Regions from separate parts of the Homo sapiens genome. Here regions 2, 3, 4, 5, 6 and 7 are each linked to region 1. Evidence: promoter capture Hi-C in 16 types of primary human blood cells and fetal thymus (Javierre and others, 2016). All regions are on one chromosome and are shown on one strand. The core of a region is centred on a gene start or on the middle of the fragment in contact, and the rest is flanking DNA. Distances in the headings are between cores, read along the strand shown. Region 1 holds the start of KCNJ5 (potassium inwardly rectifying channel subfamily J member 5). Region 2 has its middle 120 kb from the start of LINC02725. Region 3 has its middle 100 kb from the start of LINC02725. Region 4 has its middle 79 kb from the start of LINC02725. Region 5 has its middle 59 kb from the start of LINC02725. Region 6 holds the start of LOC107984374 (a long non-coding RNA gene). Region 7 has its middle 22 kb from the start of LINC02725.

The links. Contacts are between HindIII fragments. The CHiCAGO score rates a contact against its expected background, and 5 or more counts as called.
Region 2: a fragment that was not itself captured here is called in contact with the fragment with the promoter of KCNJ5 in region 1 in 3 of 17 cell types (total CD8 T cells, total CD4 T cells and activated CD4 T cells); the score reaches 6.3 in total CD8 T cells.
Region 3: a fragment that was not itself captured here is called in contact with the fragment with the promoter of KCNJ5 in region 1 in 5 of 17 cell types (naive CD8 T cells, activated CD4 T cells, total CD8 T cells and 2 more); the score reaches 8.4 in naive CD8 T cells.
Region 4: a contact is called between a fragment that was not itself captured here and the fragment with the promoter of KCNJ5 in region 1, in 6 of 17 cell types (non-activated CD4 T cells, activated CD4 T cells, total CD4 T cells and 3 more). The highest score is 9.4, in non-activated CD4 T cells.
Region 5: a fragment that was not itself captured here is called in contact with the fragment with the promoter of KCNJ5 in region 1 in 7 of 17 cell types (naive B cells, naive CD8 T cells, total B cells and 4 more); the score reaches 7.9 in naive B cells.
Region 6: a fragment that was not itself captured here is called in contact with the fragment with the promoter of KCNJ5 in region 1 in 1 of 17 cell types (total B cells); the score reaches 6.7 in total B cells.
Region 7: a fragment that was not itself captured here is called in contact with the fragment with the promoter of KCNJ5 in region 1 in 5 of 17 cell types (naive B cells, naive CD4 T cells, activated CD4 T cells and 2 more); the score reaches 5.7 in naive B cells.

What each region holds. Positions count from the first base shown.
Region 1 is chr11:128,889,701-128,893,254 of GRCh38, forward strand. KCNJ5 (potassium inwardly rectifying channel subfamily J member 5) reads left to right here and starts at 1,656. Exons shown (of 3, transcript NM_000890.5): 1 at 1,656-2,021. The HindIII fragment of the contact is 6,484 bases long and covers 1-2,164 here.
Region 2 is chr11:127,974,106-127,977,659 of GRCh38, forward strand. No RefSeq gene overlaps it. Among named protein-coding and RNA genes, the nearest start is that of LINC02725, 120 kb to the right of the region's middle. The HindIII fragment of the contact is 4,588 bases long and covers 1-3,554 here.
Region 3 is chr11:127,994,160-127,997,713 of GRCh38, forward strand. No RefSeq gene overlaps it. Among named protein-coding and RNA genes, the nearest start is that of LINC02725, 100 kb to the right of the region's middle. The HindIII fragment of the contact is 3,180 bases long and covers 182-3,361 here.
Region 4 is chr11:128,014,502-128,018,055 of GRCh38, forward strand. No RefSeq gene overlaps it. Among named protein-coding and RNA genes, the nearest start is that of LINC02725, 79 kb to the right of the region's middle. The HindIII fragment of the contact is 5,844 bases long and covers 1-3,554 here.
Region 5 is chr11:128,034,958-128,038,511 of GRCh38, forward strand. No RefSeq gene overlaps it. Among named protein-coding and RNA genes, the nearest start is that of LINC02725, 59 kb to the right of the region's middle. The HindIII fragment of the contact is 6,153 bases long and covers 1-3,554 here.
Region 6 is chr11:128,054,696-128,058,249 of GRCh38, forward strand. It overlaps LOC107984374 (a long non-coding RNA gene), which reads right to left and starts at 40. Exons shown (of 2, transcript XR_001748082.2): 1 at 1-40. The HindIII fragment of the contact is 6,879 bases long and covers 1-3,554 here.
Region 7 is chr11:128,071,583-128,075,136 of GRCh38, forward strand. No RefSeq gene overlaps it. Among named protein-coding and RNA genes, the nearest start is that of LINC02725, 22 kb to the right of the region's middle. The HindIII fragment of the contact is 1,910 bases long and covers 793-2,702 here.

The DNA.
Region 1 (3,554 bases), core at 406-2,905:
CAAAAGCAACTGCTGCCCCAGGACAGAGCCCCTCCTCAGGGCTCAGCAGATGATTATAGTGTGTGTTATCTGGACCTGAGAACTGCACAGCCAAAGCCTCTCCCAAGAACTAGGCAATTAGGGAATTAAGAACTTTCTCCACAATAGTGTTAAGCCCTGAGGTCAAACAACATATGGTGCAGTGCGTGAGCACCTAGGCAAGCTGAGTCCCCTAAGGGGACACAGAGCTTTCCTGTTAGGGCCTGTTGCAGCCACATTTAACAATCACCCCCTCTACAGAGAGAAGAGGGGCAATCAGGAGGCCCACTCTGGCCGGACCGCTCTGTGCTCTGTCCCAGGGGAGGGTGCCTGGGCAACGGGCTGTGTGTACGCTGGTCTCCGAGGCAAGAGGACCCCCAGGCCACTGTTAGAGACTAAGTTTCCCTGTCACTGTCCTTACAGGAGAGGATGGACTTGGTGCCCTCCAGTATTAGTGACAAGCATTTTTCTCATTGCAACGTAATAAACCAGTTTTCTGGTCGTAGACATCATTCACCTAGCACTTGTGCTAGGTGCTAGGGCACCCCACGTTTGACCAGCTGTGTCTGCCCTGAGAGAGGGGGCTGGCAGGGGGGGTGTTGACCCCAAAAGGCTGGGTAACGGAGAGGGGCCAGAAGGAACACCACCGGGTGAGAAGGGCCACCCCGAACAGACCGGTCCTCAGAGGCACCTGCCGGCCCTCCCCAGACAGCAGCCCTCCCTTTCAGCCTGCCCTGGCAGCTGCCTTTCCTACGGCTTCCACGAATTAAAGAACACACTCTGGTCATCATCTGTCCTCAAGGCAGGTAGGAATCCAAAAGGGAGAGCCGGGAGGTGGCGCGGAGGACGCCGGCTCTGCCCACGCCTGGGCAAGGTTGAGCTCCGTTCCCTCCGGGCTGCTCCCGCCTCCTGTCCGTGCAGGGCGCGTTTCCAGCCATCGCCGCCCAGCCGCCGCCGCACGCCGGGGAGAGATCGTCCGGGGTGAGCAGCGAGCCCGGGGACAGCTAGCCTGGGTCCTGTCCCTGGACCTACTCCCCCTGCAGCTGGCGGATCAGGCCCCCGGACCCTCACTCCACGGCGGGAATCAGAGCCGTCGGGCGGGGGATGCAGCGCCCAGACTGTGGCTCCCCCGCCTTCCCAAAGGAATCCCCCCATCTGCTCCATCCCTCTCGGGAAACGGCGAAATGCTGCCAACCGTCCGCTTAGCGCACCGCGGAGCGACTGAGCAGCCCCGCCGAGGCTCCGAGCCAAGATTTCTGCCCTAATAGTTTCTCCCTTCTTTCTGTCTGCTCCACCGCACCCACTAAATACGCGGCGCTCACACACGGACACGCGTGACACGCGGCGCTCACACACAGGCATGGGACGCTCACACGCGCGCGCGCGGGTCTCCGTCCCTGGCACCCCGCAGCAGGGGTGCAGCCGGGGGCAGGGGGAGCCGGGGGAGGGCGCAGGGGGCCGCGGGGACGCGAGCGGAGGGCTGGATGCCTGCCGGGCTCTCTCTCCGCCTTCCTCTTCCCTCCCAGTCCTGCCGAGCTGACGGCGTCCCGGATCACATGGAGCCCCCGCCCCACCCCAGCCCGCCCCCCGCCGCCAACGCCGGTGGCCCTTCCAGTCGCGTTACTACCCAGAGATTCATTTGTACCAGGGACGGAGGGAGAGAGGAGAGGGAGGAGGGGACACACACACACACACACACACACACACACACACACACACACACAGAGAGAGAGAGAGAGAGAGAGAGAGAGAGAGAGATTGTTCCAGCTGCTCTCGCTAGAGAAAGGGAGTGACCCAAGGGGCCGCGAGTGAAGGGACAGGATGGCTTAGGTACCTCTGCCCACAGGACCCCACAACAGGGAGAGGTTCCAGCTACAGCTCCTCCGTGGGGTCATGGCAGGGGCTGGGGAGTCCCCTCAAAAGCCCTGAGCCCCCCTGCACCGCCGCTAAGGGACACCCCAGAAGTTAGCATCAGTGGGACTCGGAAGCTCCGATCTCAACAAGTAAGTTGTCTTCTTTTCCTCCTCCATTTCTCCCCCAGCTCGCGGGTTCTGGAGGGCAGGATGACACCCTCAGGTGTCCATCACCTGGGCAGCAGGCTTTCACAGGGAACCTGCTAGACTGGGAGCCAGGGGGGATAAGGAAAAGCTTAGGGCAGGTCCAAGTTTAGGAAATTGGAGATCTCCGTGGCTGCAGGCTGCCCTGTGCGTTGGGAGCCCAGCCATAAACACCTTCACTTCTGGCACTAGACCAGGGCTACCTGGGGGTGCCCCAGATCTCCCAGCAGTGGTTTGAGAGGCAACAGTGGCCAGGAGTGGGTGGGGTGTGGAGGACATTTTTCACCTGGTAGGACTCTTCCTTCAAATGGGAGCAGGGAGGGCCAGGATGGGGGGCGGTGCCCCCCTCAGCCTTAGATCCCCAGCCTAATCTTGCTTTCTCTTTTAAGTGTGGCCAAACTGGAAACACGGCCTTGTGATTTCTGCCCCCCTCGCTGCCCAAGTCACTTCCTGCGTACCTCCCTATCTCCTTTTAAAGAGCTTTCAAATGGTTCAGAAAGGCCAGGGGTCAAGCCTGTGAGGACAGAGGATAGGGAACAGAGAAGGCCGGCCTTGTCATTGCTCCCCTTCTCTTCAAGTCAGTGCTTCTCCCTGCAGAGCTGTTGGCCCCCTGGTTTTATCTGTGCCTTCCCTCAAACAGGGCTCTCCAACCCCAGGGGCTGTGGAGGGCCTCAGGTCCGGCCCCCAAAGTTCTAGGGCCTACCCTGAACATCAGGGTGAGCAACACCAGCCCAAAACCTGTTCCAGGAGCCTTTTCAAACACCAGAAGAAGATCAACAGGAACACGCCAAGTATTTTACTCTGTTTCAATCCTTTTAATAAGCTGAGATTATCATCCTCATTCTACAGGTGAAAAATTGAAGCCCAGAGAGGCTGTGCAATTTGCCTCAGGTGCACAGCTCATAAAGGGAGATTCTCTCCTATATCTGACTCCAAAATGTGCCTCGTTTTCATCAAAAGCCATATGGTTTATCGGGCTTTCTGGTTCTCAAAGCACTTTTCCATGTGAGGAAAAGGCTAATATTTATGAAACCAAGGTGCCGAGCTATATACGTTTACATGAGTTCATCTTGACACCAGTCCTGTGGGGCAGAGCTTATTTCTTCTGTTTTATAGATGAGAGTAAGGGTAACAGAATTCCAGGCACTAAGTGGCAGCAGCACTGCTATCTCCAAAACTCTTGTCCTCTGGCTTTAAATCCAGGGTCTTTCCACTAACAAAAGCTAATTCTGAAAGCTGCTCTTGTCTTTCCACATCCCTGCTTTTCCTCAAAGCCAGGTGTAAATTGCATCATCTGGCTGAATGAGGCGCTCAGGCTTCCTGGAATCTGAGGAACGAACAGGGCAGAGCAAATGATGTGGGAGTTAGAGGCCCATGGTTGGACTCTGGCATAAAGAGTTTGGTCAGCTTGGCTGGTATTTTAAACTATCTATGGACCCCACCTGAGATGGCACCATTCTGCCTAGAGGCATAAGGCCT
Region 2 (3,554 bases), core at 475-2,974, 920 kb before region 1:
CAGGTAGAAGTAAAAAAAAAAAAAAAAGAAACAATGTTAATCAAAGGAAAGATGTATTATCTATAGTAATATTAGATAAATTAGACTCTAGAGCATAGAAACTTACCAGAGAGGGAGAAGGAGAAAGAGAGAGAGATTCTGTAATAATAAAAATGTCAATTCATCAAGAAGACATGACATTTCTAAATGTGCAAAAAGCAGATGCAAAACATATGAAGCAAAAATAGATGACCTAAAAGGAGAAGTTAACCTCACAATTGTATTTGTAGAGTTAAATATGACCCTTTCACCAATTAGTAAACCAACTAGACAGAAAATCAAAAAGCATATAAATCAATTCAACACCATCAACCAACAGGATCTAATTGACAGCTATAGACTACTACACCCTTCAACAGTAGAATACATATTCACTTCAAGTAACCAAAGGAAGTATACCACAATGGACAATATTTCAGGCCATAAACCAAACCCAATATATTCAAAATAATTGAAAAACTACAGAGCATATTATCCAATCACAATGGAATGAACTCAGCAATCAACAACAGAAAGAATAGGAAACTCTCAGCACTTGGAAACTAAACACTTTTAAATATTCCATGAGTGAAAAAAAAAAAGTTCTCAAGAGAAATAAAAAGTAAGGCGGGGCATGGTGGCTCACGCCTGTAATCCCAGTACTTTGGGAGGTCAAGGTGGGAGGATCACTACAGGTCGGGAATTTGAGACCAGCCTGGACAACATGGTGAAACCTGTCTCTACTAAAAATACAAAAATTAGTCAGGTGTGGTGGTGCATGCCTGTAATCCCAGCTACTCTGGAGGCTGAGGCAGGAGAATCGCTTGAACCTGGGAGGCGAAGGTTACAGTGAGCCGGGATTGCACCACTACACTCCAGCCTGGGTGACATCACGAGACTCTCTCTCTCAAAAAAATAAATAAATATATATATATATACATATTTAATGAATGATATATATATAATATATATATTTAATGAGTGAAATATATATAAATGAAATATATATGTATTTAATGAATGAAAATATAGCATATTAAAATTTGTGGAACACAGGTACAACAGTGTGGAGTAAGAAATTTATAGGACTGAATCCTGTAGTGGAAAAAATGAAAAGTATCAAATCAATAATCTAAGATCCCACCTGAAGAAAATAAAAAAGAAAGGGATAAATTAAGCCCAAAGTAAGCAGAATAAAGGAAATAATAAAGATGAAAGGAGAAATGTAGTGTTATTCATTGTGTTCGCTCACTATCCTGGAGCTTCTGTACTGATATCTCTTTTGTATTCGTATTATAAGTAATTTGTGTCTTCTTTTTTTTTTGCCACTCTTGCTAAAGTTTTGTCAATATTATTGATCTTTTTAATTAACTAAATCTCTTTTCATTGATTTCTCTATTGTTTTTCTCTTTTGACAAGAAAACACTGAAAAACAGACTTTTTGATTATCAAAATAATAACAATGTTGCTCTAGGTCTCATACATTATACACAAATTAATTCAGAATTGTTATTGAGCTACAGGTAAAATATTATACATTTGGGTGAGGTGCACTTTTTCACTGGGTTGCTTGTTTTCTTGTGGTTAAAATGTTAAGGGATTTTTGCATATGATACAAGTACTTTATAGATATTTGCTTGCAAATATATTCTCCAGTCTATGAAAGTGTCTTTCACAGAGCAGAGTTTCTAATTTATTTTTTTATTTTTTTATTTATTATTATTATTATACTTTAAGTTTTAGGGTACATGTGCACAATGTGCAGGTTAGTTACATTTGTATACATGTGCCATGCTGGTGTGCTGCACCCATTAACTCGTCATTTAGCATTAGGTATATCTCCTAATGCTATCCCTCCCGCCTCCCCCGACCCCACAACAGTCCCCAGAGTGTGTCCTTCCTGTGTCCATGTGTTCTCACTGTTCAATTCCCATCTATGAGTGAGAACATGCAGTGTTTGGTTTTTTGTCCTTGAGATAGTTTACTGAGAATGATGATTTCCAATTTCATCCATGTCCCTACAAAGGACATGAACTCATCATTTTTTATGGCTGTATAGTATTCCATGGTGTATATGTGCCACATTTTCTTAATCTAGTCTATCATTGTTGGACATTTGGGTTGGTTCCAAGTCTTTGCTATTGTGAATAGTGCCACAATAAACATACGTGTGCATGTGTCTTTATAGCAGCATGATTTATAGTCCTTTGGGTATATACCCAGTAATGGGATGGCTGGGTCAAATGGTATTTCTAGTTCTAGATCCCTGAGGAATCGCCACACTGACTTCCACAATGGTTGAACTAGTTTACAGTCCCACCAACAGTGTAAAAGTGTTCCTATTTCTCCACATCCTCTCCAGCACCTGTTGTTTCCTGACGTTTTAATGATCGCCATTCTAACTGGTGTGAGATGGTATCTCATTGTGGTTTTGATTTGCATTTCTCTGACGGCCAGTGATGATGAGCATTTTTTCATGTGTCTTTTGGCTGCATAAATGTCTTCTTTTGAGAAGTGTCTGTTCATATCCTTTGCCCACTTTTTGATGGGGTTGTTTGTTTTTTTCTTGTAAATTTGTTTGAGTTCATTGTAGATTCTGGATATTAGCCCTTTGTCAGATGAGTAGGTTGCAAAAATTTTCTCCCATTTTGTAGGTTGCCTGTTCACTCTGATGGTAGTTTGTTTTGCTGTGCAGAAGCTCTTTAGTTTAATTAGATCCCATTTGTCAATTTTGTCTTTTGTTGCCATTGCTTTTGGTGTTTTAGACATGAAGTCCTTGCCCATGCCTATGTCCTGAATGGTAATGCCTAGGTTTTCTACTAGGGTTTTTATGGTTTTACATCTAACATTTAAGTCTTTAATCCATCTTGAATTAATTTTTGTATAAGGTTTAAGGAAGGGATCCAGTTATCAGTTTTTTTTTCTTTCATGGATTATGCTTTTGGTATTACTTCAAAAACTTACCAATAACTTAAGGACACCTAGACTTTCTCCTGTGTTATCTGCCGAAAGTTGTAGAGTTTTGCATTTTACATTTCTATTTATAATCCATTATGACTTAATCACTGCAAAAAGTATAATAAGGTCTGTGTTTAGATTTAATTTTTGTTTGCATATGAACATCCAATTGTTCCAGTAACATTTGTTGAAAGGATATCTTTTAACAATTGAATTGCATTTGTTCATTTATCATACCACATAACTTTGTCTGTTTGGGCCTATTTCTGGGCTCTCTATTCTGTTCCATTGATCTATTTTTCTATTCTTTCACCAAAACCATGCTGTCTTGCTTGGTGTCACTTTATAGTAAGGCTTGAACATGGATGTGTCAGTTCTCCAAATTTTCTCTTTGTCTTTTTCATTATTATGTTGGCTATCCTGGGTCTTTGACTTTCCATGCAATGTTAGCATGAGGTTGTTAACGTCCTCAATATAACTTTCTGGGATTTTGCTTTTGATAGCATTGAATCTGTAGATCAAGTAGGAAAGAATTGAAATGCAGCAATGTTGAGGATTTCTGTTCATAACATGGCATA
Region 3 (3,554 bases), core at 522-3,021, 900 kb before region 1:
TTTCTTATTTCTCCCCACCACCCCAGCCTCTTTTTTTCTCCTACAAAATATAAGCAGTCGGACTTCATTGGAGTGTAAAAGGATCATTAGTTATGTAAGTACAGTTTAGGGAATAAGATTTGTTAGTTAACTTCTGCTTTTCCTGAGTGGTTTGGTGATGGAACTTTCAGCATTTTTCAAAAGCTTCAGGAAAAGGTGCATAAATCACAGCGTGCAAATGTGTGTGTGTGTGTGTGTGTGTGTACATAGTTTAATAGAGATAAAGGTTATTTTATTATTTTCTAGATTAGACAACCCCCAGCATGTCTCCTGTGACACTTTAACCTTAAAGCCAGCACGGACATTTCTGTAGGCAAAAGTTAAAAAGTCAGCACACTTCTCTCTCACATCTGGACACACAGTCCATTTCATTTTATGGGAAAATGAGGTATTATTTAGAAAAAAATAAGTTTTTCTGTGACTTATCTATAACTTTTGAAGTGACCATTAATGTTAAATAAGGTAACTGTTTTCTTTAATCATAAATCACTTGAAGAAATTTTAACCAATTAGATTTTCTCTCGAAAAAAAATTGGAGAAGGTAGAGGAGAGGTAGATAGATACGGTGATATTCTGACTAACATGGCTTAAGTTCCATTTAGGTAGACTTTCTCACACTTCTCTGAAATAAAGTAACCTTAGGGAAAGAAGAACAATGTAAGACTCAGAGTGTTGAGGCTATGAACGAACACATAATGCTTCAGGCATTTGAAATATCTGAGTATGTTGGGTTTGAAATTCCAAGTCCTAACTCAAAGGTTTTGTACTAGAGATTTTTACCCTAAAACTACTACTCGTACACCAGGAATGACAAAATACAGCCAGGCTTTTTTTCCCCTCCATTTTATTGTAATATAATACATATTCAGAAAATATTCCTGCCACAAATATACAGCCAATGGAATGTTTACAAACGGAACCCATGTGCATTCAGTACCCAGCTCAAGAAACAAACCATTGCCCATACCTGGAAGCCCCTTCATTATCCTGTTTATTTTCTTCCTCTCTCCACTCACACTATGCTGAGATCAGCCTCTTAAACAAGATCAGCTGGGCCTCCACACCTTTATGTACCTTGAGATAAACAACAGAAATGGCAGCAGAGGAAGCAAGGAAAAGACATCATACATTCCCTCTTGAGCCTGGCTGTGTGGACAGACTCTCCAGTGGACAATGTAACGTGTGAGAGCAGCTCTCTGGGGCTTCTGACCCAATGGGCTGAGCAGGTGTGTTCCTCGTGGAATTTTGAGGTGAAATCAGCCTATAGAGCTCTGCACTTTGGAGGTAACTTGCTATTTTCCACCTTTCAACTGGGATTAGACAAACGTTTAAAATGGTAACCATAAACACACAAGGTCATTCTCAGCTGTTGAATCCGTAATTGGGGTTGGGGGGTGGGGTTGTTTTTCCTGAAATCTTTCCTTAGGACTTTCCCACTCATCTTCTCTGTTCTCTGAGCTCCTCTGTCTTAATATATGATATTTCTCTAACACTATGGATAATTTTCTCTTTGGGTATTATTTCAGCTGCAGACTTTAAAATGCCTAGCATTTGGCCGGGTGCGGTGGTTCATGCCTGTAGTCCCAGCACTTTGGGAGGCCAAGGCAGGTGGATCACCAGGTCAGGAGATCGAGACCACCCTGGCCAACATGGTGAAATCCCGTCTCTATAAAAATGTGAAAATTAGCTGGGTGTGGTGGCGCGTGCCTGTAATCCCAGCTACTCAGGAGACTGAGGCACAAGAATCACTTGAACCCAGGAGGTGGAGGTTGCAGTGAGCCGAGATCGCACCACTGCACTCCAACCTGGTGACAGAGAGAGACTCCATCTCAAAGAAAAAAAAAAAACGTCTAGCATTGGTAGATAATGCCATTCTCTGTGCATGTCTCAGGCAGTTTGCAAAGGTGAACTATGCTCCATGCTGTCCACAAGACAGAGAGGGAGTTAGTTACATTGGCTATGTCTTTTGACTAATAGAAATAAGTTTCACTTTATGATTTTCACACACAGCAATCCATATGCATGAATAATATGTTCAAAACATTTCTCAGTCAGAGGTGGAATTAATAAAAAGTGCTGTGGTTAGAAAAAGGTTAGTGATTTTGATCAGTGAAGAAGTTCCCCCAAATTCTTTCTCCCCTACACTAGGACAATCCATCAGAAACACGGCAACACTGCAGTACGAGTAAGGTATGCCTATTCTGACCCAACAAAAACATGAAGGAATAACCTATTTTGTACCTTTCACAAACTAGAGCAAAAAGTTATTCTTCAGTAAATACTGGCTTTGAAGTTGGCACAAATTTAAGACTAATTCAAGAACTAATACAGCCACGTACTAGACAAACTTGTCAAGTCATCCAGGACCTAAGAGTCTCATTTTTATCCTCATAGATGTGTGTGTGGCCTTCTCTACAAGCATGAGGACCAATAGAGATCTGATAGTCCCTTGTCATGGTGAAGTGTTGTACAAAAATAAATTACCATGGCTCTCTCCACATTGCCTGGGGCCCAAGAGAAGGACACACTTTTGGTTCATTGTTTTGCCTTAAGAGATCTGTTGGATTACTACACAGGGAGATGGAGGAATGTCTTGCTAGAATTATAAGCGACTTTTAAATTAAAAGATCATCACCAACCTATCAACTGTATGACCGGCACTCTGCCCTGTTTTTTCAGGACAATGTTGATCTGCCGATCCTTATGACAGCTGGCAATTTGATGGCTGGAGGCTGGTGTGAGGATGTTTTCTGTGGTAGTGGAAAAAAAAAAAACACAACTAACTGGCCCACAAAGAGAGAAAATCCTAAAGTGTGATTTCACAATTTAAAAACTAACTGAATTACGCAGACATTCTGGAATGCATGCCTCATTTCTATGGGACGTGCAAGGATCTCGCTTGCTCTGAATGTCTAATTTTGTAACTACATTAGTAGAATATATATTGCAATGATTTTTTTTATAGTGAAGGAAAACAAACATGGTTATCTACAAGCAAACACAGAACTCTGTCTCTGTAAAACCTGAATCTATCATCTTGAAATCTGTCACTCCTTAATCTTCATTTGATGTGAGCTACATGTAGATTGTTTAGCATCGTCGTTACTTGCACCTGGTTTGTAATCAGACATCCTGACTCTTCCATTTTCTCACCTTGGGATCTTAGGACTGTGAAATCACTCCCTATGTATACCAGTTTCTTCCTCCATATAATGTGTGCAATTATTCCTGCCTCATTGTGCTCTTGTGAGGATTAGATGAAATAATATATCTTAAGCACTTAGAACAGTGTTTAGCACATCCTAGGCACGCATTGAACTGAAGCTTTTATTATTATTCATATTGTGTTCACTTATGGAGACATACAGGAGTCAATCAATTCATTTTCATTTTCCAGCACTAACATTTCTTCTGCTTTTCTGGCAACACTGCCATCACAGATGTGCTCCTTATATACTAAATTGTGGGGGGGTGGCGGGGGCAGATTCCATGTGATCCAAATTATTTTGTGCCAT
Region 4 (3,554 bases), core at 266-2,765, 880 kb before region 1:
TCCTTGAAGCAAGTAACACCAATGTAATTTAAGAAACAGTAATGTGAGAGAAAGAGAGAGAGAGAAGAGAGAGAGAGAGAATGTTACTTTCCAAAGTCACTGAAACAACCATCCCAAAGGTTCTAAGAAGGATATTTTTGACTTGTGCTTTTGAACTTTGATGGGGATGGAGATATCAGGAAGCAGTATTCTCCCAGCCCTCAAGATACTTTCCAGAATCTGGGCATCATGAGAATTTGCTCTAATTTCATACAGATTATTAAACCAGGAGAGGTATAACTCACCGTCCTAAATATTCAGCTCCAAAGGGCTTCAACATGTTTTACTCTATGTCCCAGTAATCAGGGCCCTGACACACACAAAAAAAACGTAAAATATTTTTTGATTGGTGTGAAAATAAAATTAAAGATCAAAAAGAGCTCTCCACGGAAACTGATCAGTTTTATTCCCAATAATTTATACATCAGCAAATTTTACTGAGTACCTACATATACCTTTCACGTATAATTCTCCATGTCCTTATTATAAGCACCAGGACTACCTGTTCCCACCAGCATGCCCAGCCTCATTCCATGCTCTGTTACTAGCACTACATAAGAGGGAACTTCTCTGAAAAATCTGCTTTTGCCTTGAAGTTCGCCATCTATAAGGTTTCAGCCACAGAGGTGAAGATGGACGGGTAAAACCTAATAAGATAAGGCAAATAGGGAAAAGATGGGATCAGAATTAGCTGTGTGTTTTAGGACTGGGGTAGGCACTGGAAAGGAGATAGGTCTGGTTGCCAGTAATAAAAGGACCAAGGAGACAAGCAAAATAAGGAATTGGGAGGTTGCAGAAGGCATGAGGAAGATCCAACAGCAAAGACGTCTCTGACAGTAGGGGAATCTATTTTAGTTTCCAGTTCCAAGTTCTTAGATTTGGTTCCAAAGAATGACTCTACTTTTAGTTCAGGGGTTATCCCAAGCTAAGCAATGCTCTATGGGGTGGAGGGTCAACATAGTTACTGGTAGTAAGGCATTTGACTTGCTAAGCTGCTTCTAATGTGGAGCGGGTAAAAGATCTGTCTAGAATCATTTTATAGGACTCCTATTGGGAGTTCTATATAATAATGACAGAATGCACTGCCCTCACCTAGGAATAATGTCTTCTGGCCAGTCAGGGCCCCATGAACAACACAGAGGTAGGTCCCTGGACATTTTTGCTTTTGCTGACATTCCGTCCTTCCAGTGGCCCCATGTGTGTGGATGCTGAGCATCCTGAAACTGACAATAACAATCCCTGAGCAACATAAATGGAGTAAGAACAAGCAAAGGGGAAACATAAGTAGGCACAGGTGGAGCAGAAAGAGAAGGACACAGAGATCACTGGCGGCTAGGGCCTAGGAAGGAGAAACAAGCCAAGACCCTGGGCCATCTCTTCTGTCTAAAGTCCAAAAAGCAACCACCATGTGATATGGCCACTCTTTACCTGGCAGAACTCTACTGCTTGCCGGTCTAAGCCATGACCTTGCTTTCACTTCCCTTCCATAGCTAAAGCACCTGAGGAAGTGTGCTCTTCAGATGTACTTCCTTTCCCATCACTTATGTTTAATTCGAAGGAGATTTTCCTAGCCCTGAAGTCCCAAATACTCTGTTATGGAATCTAACAGCCCAGCAACACTTGAAATTGTCTCTGCTTTCTCTGTATGGTCTCACAAGTTATTGAGAAGGGTTGACCTTGTTCTAATCATATGTGGGGACACACCACACTCCTTGGTATGCTTTGCTAAAGCTGAGTTCTTGCATATTATCTATGGATTGCATAACTAGAGTTCAACCTACTCCTCCACTATAAGCTGGTTTGCACATTTCCATCTCACTCCCTTAGCCCAGTAGACATGGATGGATTTAGACTTGGGGCCTTTCTAGGCTGCCTCATCCAAGAGAGCTAATGCCTCATGTCACAAGGTATGGTGGCTGAAGCAAAGTTTACACCTGTCTGCCAATTTATTAGCACCTTACATGGACTGATTCAAGAGTCCAGATTTACAAGTAAACTTACACATTATTGATGGCAACTCTCTTTTTCCCCTTACACACACATACACACACACACAGACACACACACTATTACCTTCTACTATTTTCTATCATAAGGAGACTGAGAAAATCAAGCTATCTTTTCATGGTCAACATACTCAATATCTTTCCACTAGCAGAATTCCTTATAAATGAAAAATATAGGAGACAAAGAAGCAAAAACATTTTGTATTGAGCACATTGTCTAACTTTCCTCACCCAATTCCCTGAGTTCTTGTAAACCTGGGCTTAATTATTATTCTCATTTTTGTCATGATAAAGTCACTTACTTTATGGAGCTCACAGTCTATTTAGAAAATAGACTTCAATAAAATAATTAACTAAAACAAAATAATATTACAATAAAGAAATGTGTTCTTCCTTAAAGGAGAAGGAATGAATTTAGTGTATAATAAAGAGACCTGCCTTAGTTTGGAGAAATGGGAAAGGCTTCTCTAAGGAAGAGTTTGAGCTGAGAACTGAAGGTCGAACAGGAGTTACCTAGAAGAAATACGGAGTATTCGAGACAGAGGAGGGGACATGGCCTGGTTCAGGGCAGAGCATGGCACATTTCACCTGTTAAAATAAGGCCAGTTTTCTAAAGTACAGTGAATGCTGTCAGATGAGGCTCATTAAATATTAGTTGTTTCTTCTTCTACTTTATTATTTTAATTAATTAATACAAAATTATTGAACAATTTTAATCAAGGAGAGAACAATCATATTGGTATCTGATATGAGACATGGAGATAAGAGGGATGAGGTTGACTAGGTTTTTGACATTAACACCTGAATGAATGACAGTACCATTAGCTGATAGGGAAGACACTGAAGGAATACCAATATCTGGAGTGAGATCATCAGTGTTGTATCAAAATTACCATGGACAGCTTTTAAGTCTTCCGAGTGCATACATCTAATAGGCAATTAGTTGGTAAAGCCTAGAACTTGGAGGAGAAGTCAAAGCTGGAGATATAAATTTGTGAGTTATCAGTATGTAGGTGTAAGGGAAGTTGTAGGCATAAAGGTGAATGTGCTATGAAATTCAACACTGAGTAACTCCAAAAATATTAAACAATGCAATTTCATGATAAAGAGCTAAGACTCTGAAGCCAGATTGCCTTTGTCTGAATTCCAGTTCCTTCATTATAGTAGCTGTGCGGCCTCAAGCAATTAACTTAACCTCTTAGTACTGCCATTCCCTCATCAGTAAAAATGGAGCTAATAACATATACCCCAGGGCTTTGGGAGTATTAAATGAACAAACACATTAAAAGCTCTAAGAAGAGTGTCTGGCACATAATACTTAGCAAATATAAGTTGTTTCTTTGGCTGCTTCTTGTTAATTATTATTTTCATCATCATTATCAATATTAGACATTAGAAGGTGATTATGCAAAGTAGACAGAAAAGGAATATCCAAAGAGGGAATCAGGAGAGCATGATGTCTTACAGGCCAAAGAGGAATGAGCTCAGAAAGAGGCTATGACCAACCAT
Region 5 (3,554 bases), core at 341-2,840, 850 kb before region 1:
CCATCACCCCGAGGATTCTTGTTTCCTTTTCATACAGAGACAGATTTGAACACTAAGCACCCTCATTGCTCCTAGGCTGTCTCTCCTTCTCGGCCCTCTCAATGGACAGTGTTGGGAATAATTGCATATGCACCTGCACATGCAGGGACAGTGCTACAGAAGTGTCTACACACATACACGCCATGTGCATTCCTACACACACACTTCTGTATGCACACGGGAGCAGGCACACATACATACACAGGGTTTAGACAGCATGGTTGACCACTTGTGATGGTGAATATTGAATGTCAACTTGATTGGATTGAAGGGTGCAAAGTACTGTTTCTAGGTGTGTCTGTGAGGGTGCTGCCACAGGAGATGAGCATTTGAGTCAGTGCACTGGGAGAGGCAGACCCACTGTCAATCTTGGTGGGCACCATCTAATCAGCTGCCAGCACAGCTAGTATAAAGCAGGCAGAAGAATGTGAAAAAATTAGACTGGCTTAGCCTCCCAGCCTACATCTTTCTCCCGTGCTGGATGCTTCCTGCCCTCAAACATCGAACTCCAAGTTCAGCTTTGAGACTCTGACTGGTGTCCTTGCTCCACAGCTTGCAGACAGCCTACTGTGGGACCTCACCTTGTGATCGTGTGAGTTAATACTCCTTAATGAACTCCCCTTTATGTATACATCTATCCTGTAAATTCTGTCCCTCTAGAGAACCCTGACTAATATACCACTCATACCTCTAATTTCCATTCATCTCTATATGATCTTTTTCTTCTCCTTGGGATAGAAGTGCACTACACTTTAATTTAAACCTTAAAACAAAGATTGCCCCCCCACCCGCCTGCCACCACCACACAATAAAACCAGAGGATGTGTGGCCGATTTGGCAACAAATAATAGATTTACGGTAGCAGAAACATAAAGTCACAGAGCAGGTTAAAACTGGAGAAAAGCAAATAAAAACAGCATTATAAATATCTTTCCAATGACTTATGCACTCATTTCAAAAAACATTTTTTCGGAATCAACTGTGTCAAGCACTATTTTAGGTATTGAGATATATCGGTGAACAGTTTAAAAGTCTGTCACTTTAAGGAACAGATATTCAAGAGATGTGAGACACACAGCATAACATTAGTACAAAAGATATAATAGGTGCTCATTTTGAAAATGCTACATGAAAGATCAAAGCAAAAAAAGGGGCATAGAGGTACCTCAATGGGCGTATTTCCTTATATAGAGGGTTTGGGGTGCAGACCTTTGTGATAAACTGATATGTGACCGGAGACCTAGAGGATGTGAAAGAGCAGCCGTGAAGATCTCTGCCTGAGGCTTCCAGGCAAAGGGTGGGTCAAGTGCGTCCTAGAAGGCTGTGATGGGGGACAGTGAGGGGCTGCTGTGGCTGGAGCCCAGTGACTGGGCAGTGTTAGGAGGAGTTGCAGGAGGCAGTGCAGGGTCGGATCCTACAGTGCTTTTCACACCTGTAAGAATTTGGCATCAGTGCAAGATGGGAAGCCACGGGAAGATTTTGAGCAGAGACATGCCATTGTCTGACCTGAGTTTCACCATAGTCACTCCAGCCATTCTGCAGAGGATACACTCACATGGACAAAGGGAAACAGGTCAGTCCAAACAGGGGGCAAGTAGTAGAAACCAGAGATGAACTTGAGACTCTCGCAGTCATTCAGAGATGACGTGGTCTGTACTGAGGTTATGGCAAATGTGTGCACTGTCTGTGTAGAGACAGATGTCCAGTCAGCAAGCATTATTGCATGTCACTATGTGCCAGGGAATGTGATGACTTCTGGGGAATACAAAGATGAGTGAGACACAATCACAGCCCTCACAGAGCTCACAGTCTTTGGAGAATGTGGTGGGCAAGGCAGACATGCAGGAGTAGGATGAGAGTGTAACCTGATAGGCCCTGAGGCAAGTCAGGAGCAGGCTGAGCCACAGGCTCACGTGTCCAGTGCTCCATATCCGTGGATCCCTGGACTCAGAGACAGCTTCAGACAGGACATGATTTCTCTTGAAATAGAAAGGAATCAGGAGCAAAGAAAGAGATTCTGGGGCTCTTGAGTGATAGAGAGAACATCCTTGGCTCTTGAATTTCCAGTTCCAGTCACAGCCCTCATTATGGCTTGCTGAGTCTGTCATTCCCTTGGGTGCCCATGGAATTGTCTGCCATGGTTTTACAACAAGCTCCCCTTACCTCATCTGCCTTGAGAAAGTTTCTGTACCTTGTAGCCAATGACTCTGGTCTGTGACATAGAGAAGATACGAATGCAGAATCAACAGCCTGATGCTGGCCAGGGCATATGCAGGGTTAGCATGGGGTGAAGGCAGGGCTGGTGTCCAGATTTCTGGCCCAGGTGTGACAGCAACATCATTTGTCAGAAGAAATAGGAAGAAGCTACCGAGTGTGTTCTCAGGTGTAATAAGTTTGAGAAGCCTCCAGGGTGCAGATGGCACACCTCGAGCTAAGGGGCCCTGGGTGTGGGAATGAGTTCTGGAAGGCTCCAGTAAGCATTGCCAGTGAAGCTGGGGGACCTGCAGGTAGAGGAAAAGTCAAGCGTGGAACTCCAAAGAATGTCTCGGTTGCACGCAAAAGAAGAGAAGTCAGGAACAAAGAACAGCCAGGAATGAACTAAGACAAACGAGAGAAGGAATCCAATAGACACCATGAGAGGAAAGCATTTCCAGGAGGAAAAAAATTCCAATTCCCCTTCCTTCTTTCCTTCCTTCCTTCCTTCCTTCCTTCCTTCCTTCCTTCCTTCCTTCCTTCCTTCCTTCCTTCCTTCTTTTCTTCCTTCCTTCCTTCCTTCTTTTCTTCCTTTTTGGGACGGAGTCTCGCTCTGTCGCCCATGCTGGGGTACGGTGGCACAATCTCGGCTCACTGCAGCCTCCATCTCGGGTTAAAGCAATTCTTTTGCCTCAGCCCCCCGAGTAGCTGGAATCACAGGTGCAGGCCACCACACCCAGCTAATTTTTTTGTATTTTTAGCAGAGAGGGGGTTTTACTATGTTGGCCAGCCTGGGAGCTCCTGACCTCAAGTGATCCACCCGCTTCGGCCTCCCAAAGTGCTGGGATTACAGGAGTGAGGCACAGTGCCCAGCCCAATTCCTTATACTTTAAATGACTCATTTGCCATAGCCCTTTTATTTCATATATTTGTGCAGCGGTCTTAACTCCCCCCCTAAGCTCTTGCATAGGGGCGGGGACCGCGGGCTCTCTCTGAATAGCAGCCTGAGCTGAATGAGGTTCACGGGGTGGCGAGCCAGCAGAGGGGCTCTGTGGAAGGAAAGATCCCGAATGCCCCTCTCATTCTGTGCATCCTCAGATGTTATTTTACTGACTGGAATTTTTTAACGGCTAAAACCAGGACAAAATATGCTTAACAATTCAATACATTTTCTTACAAATAAAAGGAGTAAAATAAATGTATATTCTCCTGCAGAGCTGATCTGGAAGCGTCCTCACACACCCCTTTGCCACCTGGTGGCATCCCCGTTTCTCTTGGATTCCTGAGATGTCCACTGATGTTGTTGTCAGAAAGCATTGAAC
Region 6 (3,554 bases), core at 605-3,104, 830 kb before region 1:
GCTCCCTGACCAGAGTTGCTGCCACATAAGGTGCAGGTGGATGGAGCCAGGGCTTGCTGCTTGAATGTCTGCCATCTGCTCTTGTCTCTGCAAGAGCTTCACTGGGTGAGGCTAGTTTACTCACCCTACAGTCTAGAAAGAGTTTACAATGCTAATTCCTGCTTCAGGGAAGCTATAGGAAGATGACTTAGCACCAGAAGTTGAAGATTCTTCCAGAGGAAAAGCCCTGTCTCAGTTTTACATAAGACTTTTTACTGTGTTATCCTTCACTCTCCTGGGTGACTTTGTCACCTCTCCAGGATCTAAAAGGCCTTTGAGTAATATCATAAAGAGACCCAATGTTTTCCCTCCAGGCCACTCTAGGGCTGCTTTTCTTGGTCTCAACAATTTCACAAAGCACTTTCTTTTCTTAATATAATAATATGCTAGAAATGAAAATATTTCAGCAAACTGTACGATCACAGCATAGTTGATGAGGAACTGTCCTGCACTTGTCAAAGTGCATAGCAATTCTTAAAAATGTAACTTGGAATTGCAGGTTTTTAAAAAAATTCTAATTTCCCTTTATTTCTTGAAGAAATTGTCCATGTTTGTGTTTGTAACACAGATGTTCCCTTTCTTCCAGGGGCAAAGTTTTATATCTCAAGGTTATTTATAAAAGTTCACTATAGTTAGGGGTGGAATATAGGTGGGGTAGTTATCTACATTGTGTCAGTCTATTTTTTTAAGCTCAGTGTTACTAAAATATAATTCACATACCATACAATTCACCCATTTAAAATGTACAAGTCAATGATTTAAGTATATTCGAAAAGTTACCCACCACCACAGTGAATTTTGGATCATTTCATGACACCAAAAAGAAACCCCACACCCAATGTCAGTCCCTCCCCATTTCCCCCAGTCCCTTCCACTCCAGCCCTGGCAACGACGAATCTACTTTCTGTCCCTGTTGATTTGCCTATTCTGGACATTTTATTTAAATGGAATCATACAGTATGACGTCCTTCTTTCACTGAGCAAAGTGTTTTTCATGTTCATACATGCTGTACATCCACACCATAGCATGCATCAGTGCTCCATTTATTTTTATTGATGAATCAGGTTCTATTATATGAATAACCCACATTTTATTTATCCATTTATCACCTGAAGGAGATTTGAGCTGTTTCCACTTTTTGTGTATAATGAATAATGTTGCTATAATCTTTTGGGTGGAGACATATTTTCATTTCACCTGGGTATAAATCTAGAAATGTGACTTCTGAGTCATGTGGTCACTCTGCATTTAACCTTTTGAAGAACTTTCTGGCTGTCTTTCAAAGGGGCTTCCCCATTCAGCATCCCCAACAGCAGGGTATGAGGGTTCTCCATTCTCCATATCTTCACCAGCACATGTTATTTGCTGTCTTTGTGATTGTAGCCATCCTACAATCTGGGTGTGAAGCCTCTATTTATTTACTGTTCTCTTTTGATTACTTCTTCTTTGACCATCATTTCTTCATGATTGAAATTAATAATTAATTCATGATTACCCCTTCTTTAAAATCAAAATAATGTCCAGTCCTGAATATGTCTCTGGTGGGAATAGCTCAACTGCAGAGAATGTGATAAGAGAGAAAAATGTCCACCACCGCCAAGGGCTGAAAATTTTACTAGGAGAAGACACAAACAAATCCCTCTTTCTAGACTTTTTTTCTCCATCTTTATCAGCCATTTTTTTTTTTTTGCAGTGGAATTTAGGAAAAACATTAATGAGAGAAAATAAAACCATGGGAAGTAAACAGAACAAAGGTATATATTCACTATTTCACTGAACAAAAGATACCAGCAAAAAAGACAAACCACTCTTCACACCCAAAAGCCAAAATGGGGACTGACACTAGGGCAGGAATACTAGAGAGAAAACTCATCTTTCAATGACAACATGACTGTTCCAAAATTATAAGACTTACCTTTCTTACCGGAGCATAAAAAGGACTCCTTGACAATGACCCTGAGACATTTTTTCCTGTTTTCTCACAAGGCCCTGCATGTTCATAATAGATAATAATGTTGCTGTTGGTTATTTAAGCTAACATGAATAAGCACTGACTATATTCAGACATTGAAATAAGTACATTATCTATACTTTTGCAGCAACTCAATAAGGGCATATGTGTATGTGAATGTGTGTGTGTGATTCCCATTTTACTTATGAGAAAACTGAGGCACAGATAGATTAAGAAACTTGACGATAGCCCCCAGTGAGTAATAGCAAGGACAGGGTTCAAGTCCCAACCTGTCTTATCTGGAATCTTATAGCATACCCACTAGATTTCACAGACTCTTGAAAAAAAAAGATATTTAGTGAATAAATGGATGAATATTTACAAATATCAAATTTGAGACATCTAGGAAAGGGAAAATAATGTTTTTGGAAGAAAGTATAAGTGAATAAAAGGACTTGTAGATGACAGAGTAAACTAACCTGCCACTTTTTCATTGATAGTTTAAAATCTACACATATCTATACATATCTACATCAAATAATTTAAGGTACATTTCTACAGGCTTTGACTACAAGTGAGTACAATGAGTACAAAATTAATAGTAATAATTCCACAAGTGCCATTTCCCCTGCTTCCACAAAAACCTCTTTAACGCTTCAAAGTCTAATCCTATAGTCTAATCCAGTTGTTCCTTGGAGTGACTTGGAGATGTATCACCTGAGCTTGCAAACAATTCCTAGGGCTCCAGTGGCCACATGGCATCAGCAAGGTTCTTCCTCTCCTGTTCCAGTCTCCTCGTCAGTACCTGCTTCCTGATAAGCCAGTTCAGAGTACCACCCTCTTGCCCTCTGGCAGTGCCCACCATGGAGTATCCATGTTCTCATCACAAAGTCTGCATGCCTGCTCCATACAGAGTGGAGCTCTCAATACACCAAGGCTATGCCGGGTTTAGCGTAGATGTAGACAAAAGGCTCCTCTCCCTCACTTTGTCACCAGAGAACCAATGTAGAACTGGTTGTGTTTCAGAGTCTCCCAGGAAATAATGGAATTGTTCAAACAGTTTATCTTACAGCTGCACTTTGCTTTCTATAGGGCTCAAATAGAAGCAGCTAATGCCGGCCCAGAGAACTTAAAAGATCTCAGATGTCCTCCTGGTGCTTCTCACCAATCCTCCTTTACTGAGGCTTCTTTCCCACATGCAATTGAATTCCTTCACTAGATGCCAGGGAGCTGCTTGCTCTACTTGCTAACCGGTCAAACCCAGACATGTCTGAGTCCCAGGGGTGAGTGCAGCTTAGGCTGAAGCTGGGACCATGTCTGCATGACTTTTTAAACCCTTAATTATTTTGGAAATTTGATCAGATATTTTTGTCAGGTTTGGTACTGAGAGGGAGGAAACGTCATATTCTGCCAAATATAATTTGAGAATTGCAACTTACATGTTTTTCTCCATCGCCAAAATGCACCCCCTCAACTCAGATTAGGATGATGGTTATGAGGCAGCGTATTAAAATAAGAACCTGCCAACTTCACACAGACATGGAATGTGTTCCAGTGTTAAAC
Region 7 (3,554 bases), core at 498-2,997, 820 kb before region 1:
GATATACACATAAATATCTCAACAGAATAACAACTGTGGGCTGTTGAGGACTGTGCTTTTCATAAACTCATGGGGGAGTTAACAGAACCTTGTTGATTTAATCCTAGGCCTATGAAAAGTATTAAGATGGATGCTCCCAGAAGGCAAAGGGATAGAAACTTGTACTGTGAGATGAAGGGAGAACTTGTCAAAGGTGATATCTTTCTCATTAGAAAGGGACAGTCTTTGGAATGTAATGTGGAAAAGACATGTACTTCCTTTGCACACTGTGCCAGGCAGTACCTGGACCTCAGATTGTCTATGGTTCTCTGGAGCTTGTGGAGGATGGGCACTAGGTATCACATTCTTGAGAGCTGTAGGAAGGATCCACGTAGTAAATTCGTATTAGAGCCAGCACCTCTGTGTGCTTAATAATTACAATCATGGGCCTCCTTGCTCATTCTCACCTGGACTGCATAATCTCAGAGTCTTTGTTCTAATGTGGGAGGAAGAAGGAGCTACCAAAACATTTGTATTGCACATCTTAAGAACTTTGGTGAATGAGAACTTGGAAGTAGATTTTACTTGATTTAGTGGAGATGTGATCATTATAGCAAACATTTTATAATGTGCCAGTAATTGTTCTAAGCACTTATATTTACAAACTAAATTCTCACATTTCACACAGAGGAAAATGTACTTGCCAGTTGTGCTAGTTAACCTCTCAGTGCCTCCGAGTCAGGATTTGGAACCCAAGCAGTGCAACTGTAAAATGTCTCTCATTCAGGTAAGGCATGATTTACATTAATTGCAAGCTTAAGGAAAAGGAAGGGAGATGAATGTTGGATGAGCTATTCCCCCAAATACACACACTCACACACACCCGTTTTGTTCAGGGGACTCGCTATGCTTCTGTTGATTTACCTTTAGGTAATATTAGGAATAATGCTCAGTTTGATAAATATGTACTGCATTGGGCTGAGGTGCATTGAAAGTCTTTATTGCACCACTTGCAGTTAGAAGAGAGTGACTTGGAGATACAGAAGAATGAATTTATCTTTCTACTTTATTCTTTCTTTTCCCCACATCTATGTTCTTATCCCTCATCTGGACACTCTCCTAGTCTAGACTGTTGGGAATGACAGCTAAGTGTGACAGAATATTTTATTTTACACTTGTTTACCCTAGTAGGTTCTGATAGTCATGTATTTCTTGGAAATGGAATTTGTCATAGAGGGAGTAAGATTTAGTCAGGTCCTTAGTCCTGTTTCTTCTTTTAGGCAATACATGTATATTTCCTCTTCTTACTTTTTCTCACCTGTTTTTCTCCCAACATTTCCTGAGTAGAAGCCAGTCCAGCCCCCAAACAACAGCTCAACTATTCCAGACATACCCCTGCCCTCTTGCAAACAGCTCACACTCAAGCAAACAGCACAGCCTGGGAGGTTTGCAGGTTTGTGGATTGCCACTGGACCCTGTCCAAACCCCATTAGCCTGTGCCCAAGAAGGTCTAATGGGATCTACTGTTACGTTGCATAGGATTTATTATACCTGAGCTTTTGAAGAGCAAGAAAGACATTCCTCTTTTCCTCTCTTTCGCCCTGTGATTTCCACTCCATTACTGAGGTCAGTTCATGTGGCCTGCCCAAAAGAAAAATTGGTAAAAACGGACAGTGTTTTCTCCACAGCACCTTCAGTTGCCCTTTTATCTTCTCATCCTCCATCTTGCAACCCATACTCCTCTTCTCCTTCCATCTCATTCACGTCCATCTTGTTTTTTCTTTCTTTTTTTTTCTCTTCTTCCTGTCCCAGTACCTTCCTTTTAGACTGACAATACTGTATAGCTAAATAAATATCCTGTCAATCCTTCAGACTCTCCTTCGTTTTGGTTTTCTTTTAAATAAAAATTGAATTCTGTAAGAACTGATTTGGTACCTGAGTTTTTGCACTTGTTATAATAAGAACAGATCTGAAAAGATCTGAGAGGAATGAAGACATCAGTTAAGAGGCTTCTGTCATAATCCAAGGAAGAGCAGATAGTGGCTTGAGTAAACGGGCAATGGAAAACACAGACACATTTAAATATGATAGTGAAGCAAGACACTCATAGAAGGAAACTCTTGCTTAGGAAAACAAAAGTGGCAATTTAGGATTGTCCATTTCTAAAATGATAGGGATTTAATTACAGCTAGTGTCATTTCTACTCGTAGCAAAAAGCAATGGTACTGACACTTTTCATGCAGCTGCCTCTGGAAGGTCAGAAAAAAAGACAAATGCACCACATATGAAAAACGAGGCAGCCTTTTGGTCCCAGTAGCAACATAAATTTATAATCTTAAAAGCATGCTCAAGGGGGAAATATACTTTGGTATTATAGGACTAGAATTTGAAACTAATTACTGAAAGATGTGTTTCAGGTAATAGAAAACAATCTTAAGGTTTTGAGATATAAATAATCAACTGGATTACAATATAGTAACAATAATATCTAATTTGAGTTATAAAACATAATAGCTCTAAAAGATTAGAAAAAGAATAATTGCTAAGTTATAATAATAAGAATAGTTAATATGTTAACTTATAGTTCAGAGACATTAATTGACCTTATACTTTTAGTAAAATATGCATATATTTAGAAACTACTCAAAGAATGGAACTAGTGCATGGCTTATGAAACAATAGAGGAACAAACTCTACCGTTGCCTCTGAAATAAAATAAATAAAGCTTTACCTTCTTTATATCCTTATTTCACAAGTGATTAATAAAGGAAACCAGCCAGGCTGAGCTCTCATTGGTGGTGAGGCTGAACTTGAATTATAACTCACAGAGGACATTAAGTCAAAGAAAGGCTTCCGAATCGCAAATCTCAAACCAAAGGAAACAAGCCACCATACTTGATAGCAGAAATAATAAACAGCATAATTTTACCCCCAAGAGTCTTGTTTATTAGAATATACATATATAAAATGTAAATAATAAATAGTTTAAATAATTAGACTGGGCATTGAAAACATGAATAAGGAATGATAGCTTTGAAAATAACTAAAAAGATTATAGAAAAGATAAATTTTATTATTAAAATTTTATAAATCAATAGATTATTTAAATAGTAGATTCTATGGTAATTCTGAAACAGTTGGTGAAGTATAAAATAGATCTAGAGAAAGTATCACAATTTTGTACAGAGATCAAGAGATATGAGATAGGAAAGATTAAATAAGGAGACGGAGGAAATGATGAGAAGCACTATCAAATAGTTGATCAAAGGTGAAGTTTTTCTATGACAGAAAAACATATTTGATGAGAAAAGGATTAAAAATGTCTAGAAAAGATGGAAAATAAAAACAAAAACAAAAACAAGCCCTGAGCTTTGGGATGCTCAATGAATCCTAAGAAGGATAAAAAAGACAATAAATCTGGTAAAATTTCAAAACACAAAAAATGAAAAGAAGATATTAAAATCTCCCAGCTTAAAAAGATAGATTGTCTATAAAGAAAGAACAGACTCAGCCCTGACTTCTTAATAACAAGTGTGGTAAAAGCAGGAAAATTATGCTTTCAGTGTTCTGAGAGA